Regions from separate parts of the Homo sapiens genome. Here region 1 is linked to region 2. Evidence: promoter capture Hi-C in human tissues and cell types (Jung and others, 2019). All regions are on one chromosome and are shown on one strand. The core of a region is centred on a gene start or on the middle of the fragment in contact, and the rest is flanking DNA. Distances in the headings are between cores, read along the strand shown. Region 1 overlaps CTNNA3 (catenin alpha 3). Region 2 holds the start of LRRTM3 (leucine rich repeat transmembrane neuronal 3).

Region 1 (4,224 bases), core at 1,055-3,554, 93 kb before region 2:
AAGAAGTACCGACAGAGGTTAAGTTATTTACCTGTAGTCCCAGAGCTCATTACTAGCAAAACTGGGGTTTAAATTCAGAGCTCCCACTCTGCTTCTACTCGTGCTCCTTCTTCAGCATAAACCAATGCAGCATGGAGAATTCTATTCTAAACACCTCAACCCCTCACAACTACTAATTTCTCTTTTTTTTTTTGTTTTTCCTTTTTGAGACGGAGTCTAGCTCTGTTGCCCAGGCTGGAGTGCAGTGGTGCGATCTCGGCTCACCGCAAGCTCCGCCTCCTGGGTTCCCGCCATTCTCCTGCCTCAGCCTCCCGAGTAGCTGGGACTACAGGCGCCCGCCATCACGCCCGGCTAATTTTTTGTATTTTTAGTAGAGACAGGGTTTCACCGTGTTAGCCAGGATGGTCTCTATCTCCTGACCTCGTGATCCGCCTGCCTCGGCCTCCCAAAGTGCTGGGATTACAGGCGTGAGCCACCGCGCCTGGCCTACTAATTTCTTCTTTAAGCAACCTTTATGTCCTCAAAAAGTCATAAAAAAGGGAAAAAAAAGAATTTTTGTTTTATATGTTTTTAAATGACAGCTTTAAAGACAGTTACCTGAAAATGAAACAAAGAATGATTCCAAAGCTTTACTCCCATGAAATAGCCTCTTCAATACTCCCCTGATCCAATGCATCACCATCATCCTCTTTCACCTGGACTACTACAATAATCAATCTTATGTCCTTCCAAATAAGTCTCTAATCTGCAGGAAAAACAATGGTCTTTTTAAAATGAAAACCTGATCATGTTATTTTATTTCTTTAAACTCCCCAGTGATTCTCTGATGCTCTTTGGATCCATAAGCAGTAAGGCCTTTGTAAGCTTGTGATCCTTCAATCCCATTTCTGGCCCATCTTCCCTTGTGTGCCAGGCTTCACTCGTTCTGACTTTTCAAATTTCTTAATTGTGCTATGCTTTTTCCCATCTCAAGACTTTACCATACGCTTGCTCTCTGTCTAGAACATTTCCTATGCCCAATCCAAGCTTTCACTCCACTAACTTTTAATCCACCCTTACCTCTCAGGTTTGAAATCTTTTCTGGGATGCTTTCTCTGGCTTTCATTACTGAGCTGTCTCTCTACCAGTTGGCACTTCAATTGTTTACTGGTTTGATTCCTCTCCTAGACTATAAGCACCATGAAAGCAGCGGATATTTTACTAGACAGTAAATCCTCAGCCTACCTAGCACACAGTAGCAATTCAATAAAGAGTTGTGCAGAGAAGAAACAAAAAAAAGGGGAAGGAGCATGAGATGCAGGAAAGCAGAGGAGAGAGGAAAGGGAAAGAGGGAAGAAGGGAGAGAAGCATGAAAACAATCCACTATTTTTCCAGCACAATGTCTTTAATATGATGAATTCTCTTTTATCTGATATCTTCAGGGATGAGATATTCTGATTAATTCATTCAATTTAAGACATAGTTCAAGCTTTCAAAAACTAATGAGGATAAGGCAAGCAGATTAAAGAAGACAAGGAATTCAATTGTATGGAATATAGAGCAAATCCTTTATCAACAAATAGCATAAGGAAAGGAATGAATTTGGTCAGGTGCTCTGAAACACTGAACAAAATACCTACGTACACAGCCACTCATCCTGAAAAACCCAGCACATTCTAACACCCAGAAGCACTGCAAACCACTAAGTAATTCACTGCTCAATTAAAGTTCATATCAAAGACATAATATTTCTATAAGTTGGGAAGAAACTACACTCATTTTGGCAGAAAAAATGACTCTATAGTTTTGATGATAAATTGTTATTCTTACAAAGAGAGGTCTGAGACCCTGTATATATCTATAAGCAGTAGACAGGGCCTTAATTTTTGAAAGTCTCATGTAGATATCTAAGATCACGCACTGTAAAAGCACACACAGCTCAATTTATCTGTCTTAGAAGGAAAGTGAGCCAGATGGACCCTGCTGGGATTTGTACCTGAAAGTTACGGGAAAATTTGAAGTTCCGGAAAAAGTTCTTAAGGCACACCAGTTAAGAAAAATAAGTTGAAAAATATATTGTTTTTGAGGAGGCCATTTACTAAGCCAACAAAATTAAATTAATGCCACAATCACTGAGAAAATAAAAAGATATACACGTTATAATTTTAGTTCTCAATTATTCTCCTGTAATCAGTTTGTCTTCCTACTAGTTGTGGATATATCAATTTTCAAAAAAAAAAAAGGAAGAAGAAAAGGTTTTTTTATGACCCAACTCAAAGTCACAGATTCTTCTAGCTAGTAGCAATCCAGAAATAACTCAGCCTAAACTTCTCATTTTAAAGGTCAGAAAAACTGAAGCTAAGAGACATTAAATGACCCTAGCAAGGTGACACCGTGAGACATTGGCAGAGTGAGGACCAGAGCTCTAATCCCCTAACTCAGTAGCTAGATTTCTGAGCACTAGATCACTGGAGGAAGCAGCCATATTTTTCTATTCAGAAATTTTTTTTCTTCAAAGCAAATGCATCACATTCTATTTGAGCTTGTAGACACCTAAAAACCCCAGATGGTCTCATATCAACTTCCTCCAAGGCAGTTCACCCCCTTCCTGAATTTGTGCGATAGATTATTTTTACTCTAAAAGAAGAATTTTATTTATATCCATGTTATATTTTATCTTGGTGCTTTCAGATCATTGTTTCTGCCTTTTAAGATCAAATTGAATTTTGGATCTGCCATTCATGTTGCTAGGTAGTCCTCTGAGGTCTGAATCATTGAAGAATCTAAAGAGCATGACTTGTGTGTCTTCATTCAGGTCACAGTGAGGACACTGAATAGGGAGAGCAGAGCTGCTGCTAGCCAGTCTGCCAGGAGGCTTAATGCATGAATCAAGACCTACTTCATTGACTGTTCAGTAGGCATTGAATCCACCTAAAGATTTTTTCATCCAATCCACATTTTTCTATCTTGTTTATATCTCTATAATAAGCATAATTGCACTGACTACGTGCAAATCCTTATAGAATAAGCATTTAAAAACAAAATATTACATTTCTAGGAGGTTTTTTAGTTGACAAAGTATTTTATGCACATTATTTCATCTGAAACTCAGAGAAAGTAAACAAGTCAGGGTTTATTATTTCTGTTTTGTAGATTAGGAAACTAAGTTTCAGAGAAGTTCATTGACTTACTCACCATCAACAAGCTAATACGTATTGAAGTAGTGTGTTCCTAGACACTTGCTCCAACACTTTTATGTTATTTCATCTGGATAGTGTAGGTAGCTGTCAAATACATGACTGAGATGAGTTTCAGTACTGTACTACAAAATCTCAAGTGAACTACATATCCAATTTTCTGAACACCAAGAGAGCCCAACAGGGAGAGAAAGGCTCCTCTTCCATGTGTTTTCTCAAGATGGACTAATAGGATTTCACGAATCCTGTTTCAAGTATTGTAAACACACACACACACCAGCTTGCTATTTTTCTATTTTGAATACCTAAGAAGCTTTTACCCATCCCGCCCTTTGTCCCAGTAAGTAGGCCTTTACTGTCAAGAAAAAGAGCCTAGTTGTCTTGCCAAAATGTTATTGGGAAGGTACCTTATCAAAGACCAACAATAGGGTGTATTGTTCCCATGTTCTTTCAATGACACACTCAGCTCCTTGGTATGTCTCCCTGGTTCCTAGATAGAGAATGCCAATACAGGTTTTAAGGGCTGCAGCCAATCCCCCACTTTTCCTGCCTTCTACAGTTGAGCTAATAGCCAGCTTTTGTACCTATTATGTGTACTCACATACAATTGTCAGGTTAGCTATTAAGTAGATAATCAGATGCTGTTTTGAGTGTTGGCTTTCACAGATCTATAAAAGACACCCTGCTACACACATACATGTGCAAGATATTACGTCCTAAGGGTCCACTGTGTATCCTGACTGTGCTGAGTATTACAAGGGGCATTAACAATAACACTTCACAGTTACACAGGATTTTAGAATTGACAAAATACTTTCATAGATATCATTGTGATCCTCACAATAGTTATATGAAATAAACAGTACAGATGCCATCATTTCCATTTTATAGATGAGAAAAGTGAGATACAGCAAATTCAGTGACCTACCCAAGGTTACACAACTATTGAGTCACTGAGTGGTCTTAATCTAAAATCTCTGCAATCCAATTTAGCGGAGAACACAAGTTATTTGAAGATATGACTTTAAGAAATGAAACAGTCAACAGC
Region 2 (4,109 bases), core at 1,226-3,725:
GTTCAGTATTACCCTTCTGTGCTGTGCAAAGGAGAATAGTCAAAAGCATATTTACTGTTCTCATGAAATTTGTAGTTTAACTATGAAGACAAGATATCTGTGAAAAGTAAAGATCACTTTCTGATCAACTAAGTTTTCTCACTTTCTAGTTTTTGTCTTTGTATATACCTCCTTTAAGAATACTTTCTCCAAAATTGTTTCCAGTCTCACTGACTGAGGAAATTTTCAGGACTCAATCCCATGTACAAATGTTGAACATTACATAATCAGTTATACTATATCCATTGTACTTGTGACTGATATAAAAACATATTTTTTTCAATAGCTATTTATTGCATGTCTGCAATGTGCCAAGTGCTGTTGTAGATATTAGGAAAAATGAAGTAGACAAAACATTGTCTTTGTCCTTGTGGAACTTACATCTCAGTATTATAAGTGTGCAAACCCTCTCTTCCTACTAGGAGAAAATATTATTTTTAATCATTCCTTCACAGTGAGTTTCTTAAACTTATTTCATCAGAGACTATTGAAAAGCACACACTCTTCCATCCCCCTAGAATGAGAATCCTGGGGGAGGGATTGGGCAGTCTATCTTTTTAAGAAACTCACTGGATGTTTCATGTGCATTCACAGCTTAGGTAACTCTGGGGGAAAGCACTGCCCTATTAAGAACATACTGCCCAAGGAATTGGTAATATCCATTGTACTATATCTGTAGGACCCCTTTTGATTGTCATTACTAGCCTTTATCAAACATCTCATCCTTGGAGAATGTGAAAGCTCTCCACGGTTTTCCACAGACAGTTCACCTAACAAAAAACAACAAGGCAAACTTTTTCAAGAATACCATTATTTTTAAATAAAATGCCTCTACATGGCAGATGTTATTATGTTCTACTTTGGAGATGAAAAGAATCGAACATTATTAGTCATGATCCACAGAACCAGAAGATTTATTTTAAAGATAAAGTTCAGATGATGAACATAAAGGAAGTTATCTCATCAAAGAAGGCAAGACTGAGTAAATCTCAGAAATCCACCATGTACAATATTTAAAAATGCTCACTAAAGTTGTTCTTTGTGAGTTAATGAAGGTCAGTATAGTCAATATTCAGTACGTAATCCTAGCAAGTACAAATAAAGTTAATATTATTCAAATATCTTACACAGGCTTATTGCATGCAACACACTGTTCTAAGTAACATACAGATATTAAAATGACTTAATTCTCAAAACATGAAGTGAGTTTTTGTTTTTATGCCCGTTTTGCAGATGAGAAAACTGAGGCATAGGGAAGGTAAGTAACGCGCTTAAGGTTACATAGCTGGTAAATTGTAGCCAGGAGTTGGAATCTAGGTGCCAAAATCTATGCTGTTAATCACTAAACTACGCTGCCTTAGTTTTTATACTTCTTTAGGAACCTCAGACCAAAAGAAATTTAGGCAATTCTAATAGAACAAGCAAGAATTTGCTAATCACAGCTTCCTTGCCCCAATCCTTTAATCGGCTTCATTTTCACTGACTTCTTTTTTAAATGAAGATAACAATGTTGTTGAACAGGATCATCTAGTGGTTAGTGGTTCGGCATAAGAATGACTCGCTTCTGAAGCTCAGCTCTAGCACTCGCTTGCTGTATGACCTTGAGAAAGTTACCTCCCCAAGTCTGTTTCCTCATCTTTAAAAGAGAGGTTATAATAGGACCCACATCATACTATTGTTTAAAGAGAAAACAACGTAGCCCATTTAAAGCACTTAGAAAGTGCTCCATAAATATTATTAGTGTAATAAATAGCAGCAACATCAATAAAGTATGAACCAAATGATCTCTTGATTCGTATCCTAACACTAAAAATGGTTTATTTCCCTTCTAATTAAAAGAGAATTACAACAACCAAAACAACAAACGAAACTATAGCCATAAAATCAATTATATCGTCTGTGAGAAAACCGGAAAGGCTATTGGACACATTAATTCACTTGTCATCAGTCATCCCCTCTATTCCAAAATGTTTGTGTTCTAACATCCTGAGACACCTTGCATAATATAATCACTGTGACTCCAAGAGGTCAAATGGGCAGGCAGTTAATGCTTCTCTGTGAAAAGCTCAATAATTCATTTTATAAATTTCAGTTTAAAGCCTGCGTTGAGGTTAAGAAAAATTGACGTTCGGTCTGTGAACTTAATGTCAAGCTCCAGAAAAACTCTGGGCAGCACATGTTTAGCAATTAAGTGGACACAGACAATAAAGACGTTGCCAAATTGTAAAACAAGACTTGGAAATCACAGAAAATGTTGCTAGTTATTGATCACGGTGACCATTCAGTTCCTACTGAGCCACCCAAAAGAATCATTCATTTTCCAGCAGAGAGCCTGCTCATTTGCAAGATAAAAGAGAGACATTTCTGCACATGCCCATAATGTTCTTCACCACTGGGGGCAGCTTTACATAAGACTGCATTCACTGAAACCAAAGCAACAGTCCGAGCAGCTTTCAGAATGACAGTCTGCAGAAGTGAGCTGAGCGTGTGCGCGGTACGGGGCTCTCCTGCCTTCTGGGCTCCAACGCAGCTCTGTGGCTGAACTGGGTGCTCATCACGGGAACTGCTGGGGTATGGAATACAGATGTGGCAGCTCAGGTAGCCCCAAATTGCCTGGAAGAATACATCATGTTTTTCGATAAGAAGAAATTGTAGGATCCAGTTTTTTTTTTAACCGCCCCCTCCCCACCCCCCAAAAAACTGTAAAGATGCAAAAACGTAATATCCATGAAGATCCTATTACCTAGGAAGATTTTGATGTTTTGCTGCGAATGCGGTGTTGGGATTTATTTGTTCTTGGAGTGTTCTGCGTGGCTGGCAAAGAATAATGTTCCAAAATCGGTCCATCTCCCAAGGGGTCCAATTTTTCTTCCTGGGTGTCAGCGAGCCCTGACTCACTACAGTGCAGCTGACAGGGGCTGTCATGCAACTGGCCCCTAAGCCAAAGCAAAAGACCTAAGGACGACCTTTGAACAATACAAAGGATGGGTATGTTTTGTCATTTTTCTTCTTTCCTTCTTAAAAACAAAAAACAAAAAACCTCTAGTGTGTGTAATAATTCTGCCTTAATTATTTTAGAGATTACCTTGCTCTGCTCTAAGACTATGAATTTATTTGCTTAGTGGCATGTTTCCTTGTTTAACTATTTAAAAAAACAAAACACTAAAGACAATTCTCTTTAATTACAAAGAGATAATATGTGATGTTAAGTGTTATTTAGATTTAAATTTTTAAAAATGAAAAATATATGCCTATTTTTGCTTGATTAAGGATTAATTCTTTTTTGGGGGGATAACTTTTCTAAGTTGTTTTTATTTCCAGGTTTCAATGTAATTAGGCTACTGAGCGGATCAGCTGTAGCACTGGTTATAGCCCCCACTGTCTTACTGACAATGCTTTCTTCTGCCGAACGAGGATGCCCTAAGGGCTGTAGGTGTGAAGGCAAAATGGTATATTGTGAATCTCAGAAATTACAGGAGATACCCTCAAGTATATCTGCTGGTTGCTTAGGTTTGTCCCTTCGCTATAACAGCCTTCAAAAACTTAAGTATAATCAATTTAAAGGGCTCAACCAGCTCACCTGGCTATACCTTGACCATAACCATATCAGCAATATTGACGAAAATGCTTTTAATGGAATACGCAGACTCAAAGAGCTGATTCTTAGTTCCAATAGAATCTCCTATTTTCTTAACAATACCTTCAGACCTGTGACAAATTTACGGAACTTGGATCTGTCCTATAATCAGCTGCATTCTCTGGGATCTGAACAGTTTCGGGGCTTGCGGAAGCTGCTGAGTTTACATTTACGGTCTAACTCCCTGAGAACCATCCCTGTGCGAATATTCCAAGACTGCCGCAACCTGGAACTTTTGGACCTGGGATATAACCGGATCCGAAGTTTAGCCAGGAATGTCTTTGCTGGCATGATCAGACTCAAAGAACTTCACCTGGAGCACAATCAATTTTCCAAGCTCAACCTGGCCCTTTTTCCAAGGTTGGTCAGCCTTCAGAACCTTTACTTGCAGTGGAATAAAATCAGTGTCATAGGACAGACCATGTCCTGGACC

Evidence for each region. The method cuts DNA at HindIII sites, captures the fragments that hold promoters and counts their contacts. A contact is called where the count stands out against the background at its distance.
Region 1: a fragment that was not itself captured here is called in contact with the fragment with the promoter of LRRTM3 in region 2 in 3 of the 25 tissues and cell types used here (dorsolateral prefrontal cortex, hippocampus and mesenchymal stem cells).

What each region holds. Positions count from the first base shown.
Region 1 is chr10:66,830,422-66,834,645 of GRCh38, forward strand. All of the region lies in intron 7 of CTNNA3 (catenin alpha 3), which reads right to left. Among named protein-coding and RNA genes, the nearest start is that of LRRTM3, 94 kb to the right of the region's middle. The HindIII fragment of the contact is 4,136 bases long and covers 237-4,224 here.
Region 2 is chr10:66,923,561-66,927,669 of GRCh38, forward strand. It overlaps LRRTM3 (leucine rich repeat transmembrane neuronal 3), which reads left to right and starts at 2,476. Exons shown (of 3, transcript NM_178011.5): 1 at 2,476-3,027; 2 at 3,361-4,109. The coding sequence starts at 3,024. All of the region lies in intron 7 of CTNNA3 (catenin alpha 3), which reads right to left. All of the region lies in intron 3 of LOC101928961 (a long non-coding RNA gene), which reads right to left. RefSeq lists an enhancer at 1,863-2,719 and a silencer at 2,339-2,448. The HindIII fragment of the contact is 13,899 bases long and covers 1-4,109 here.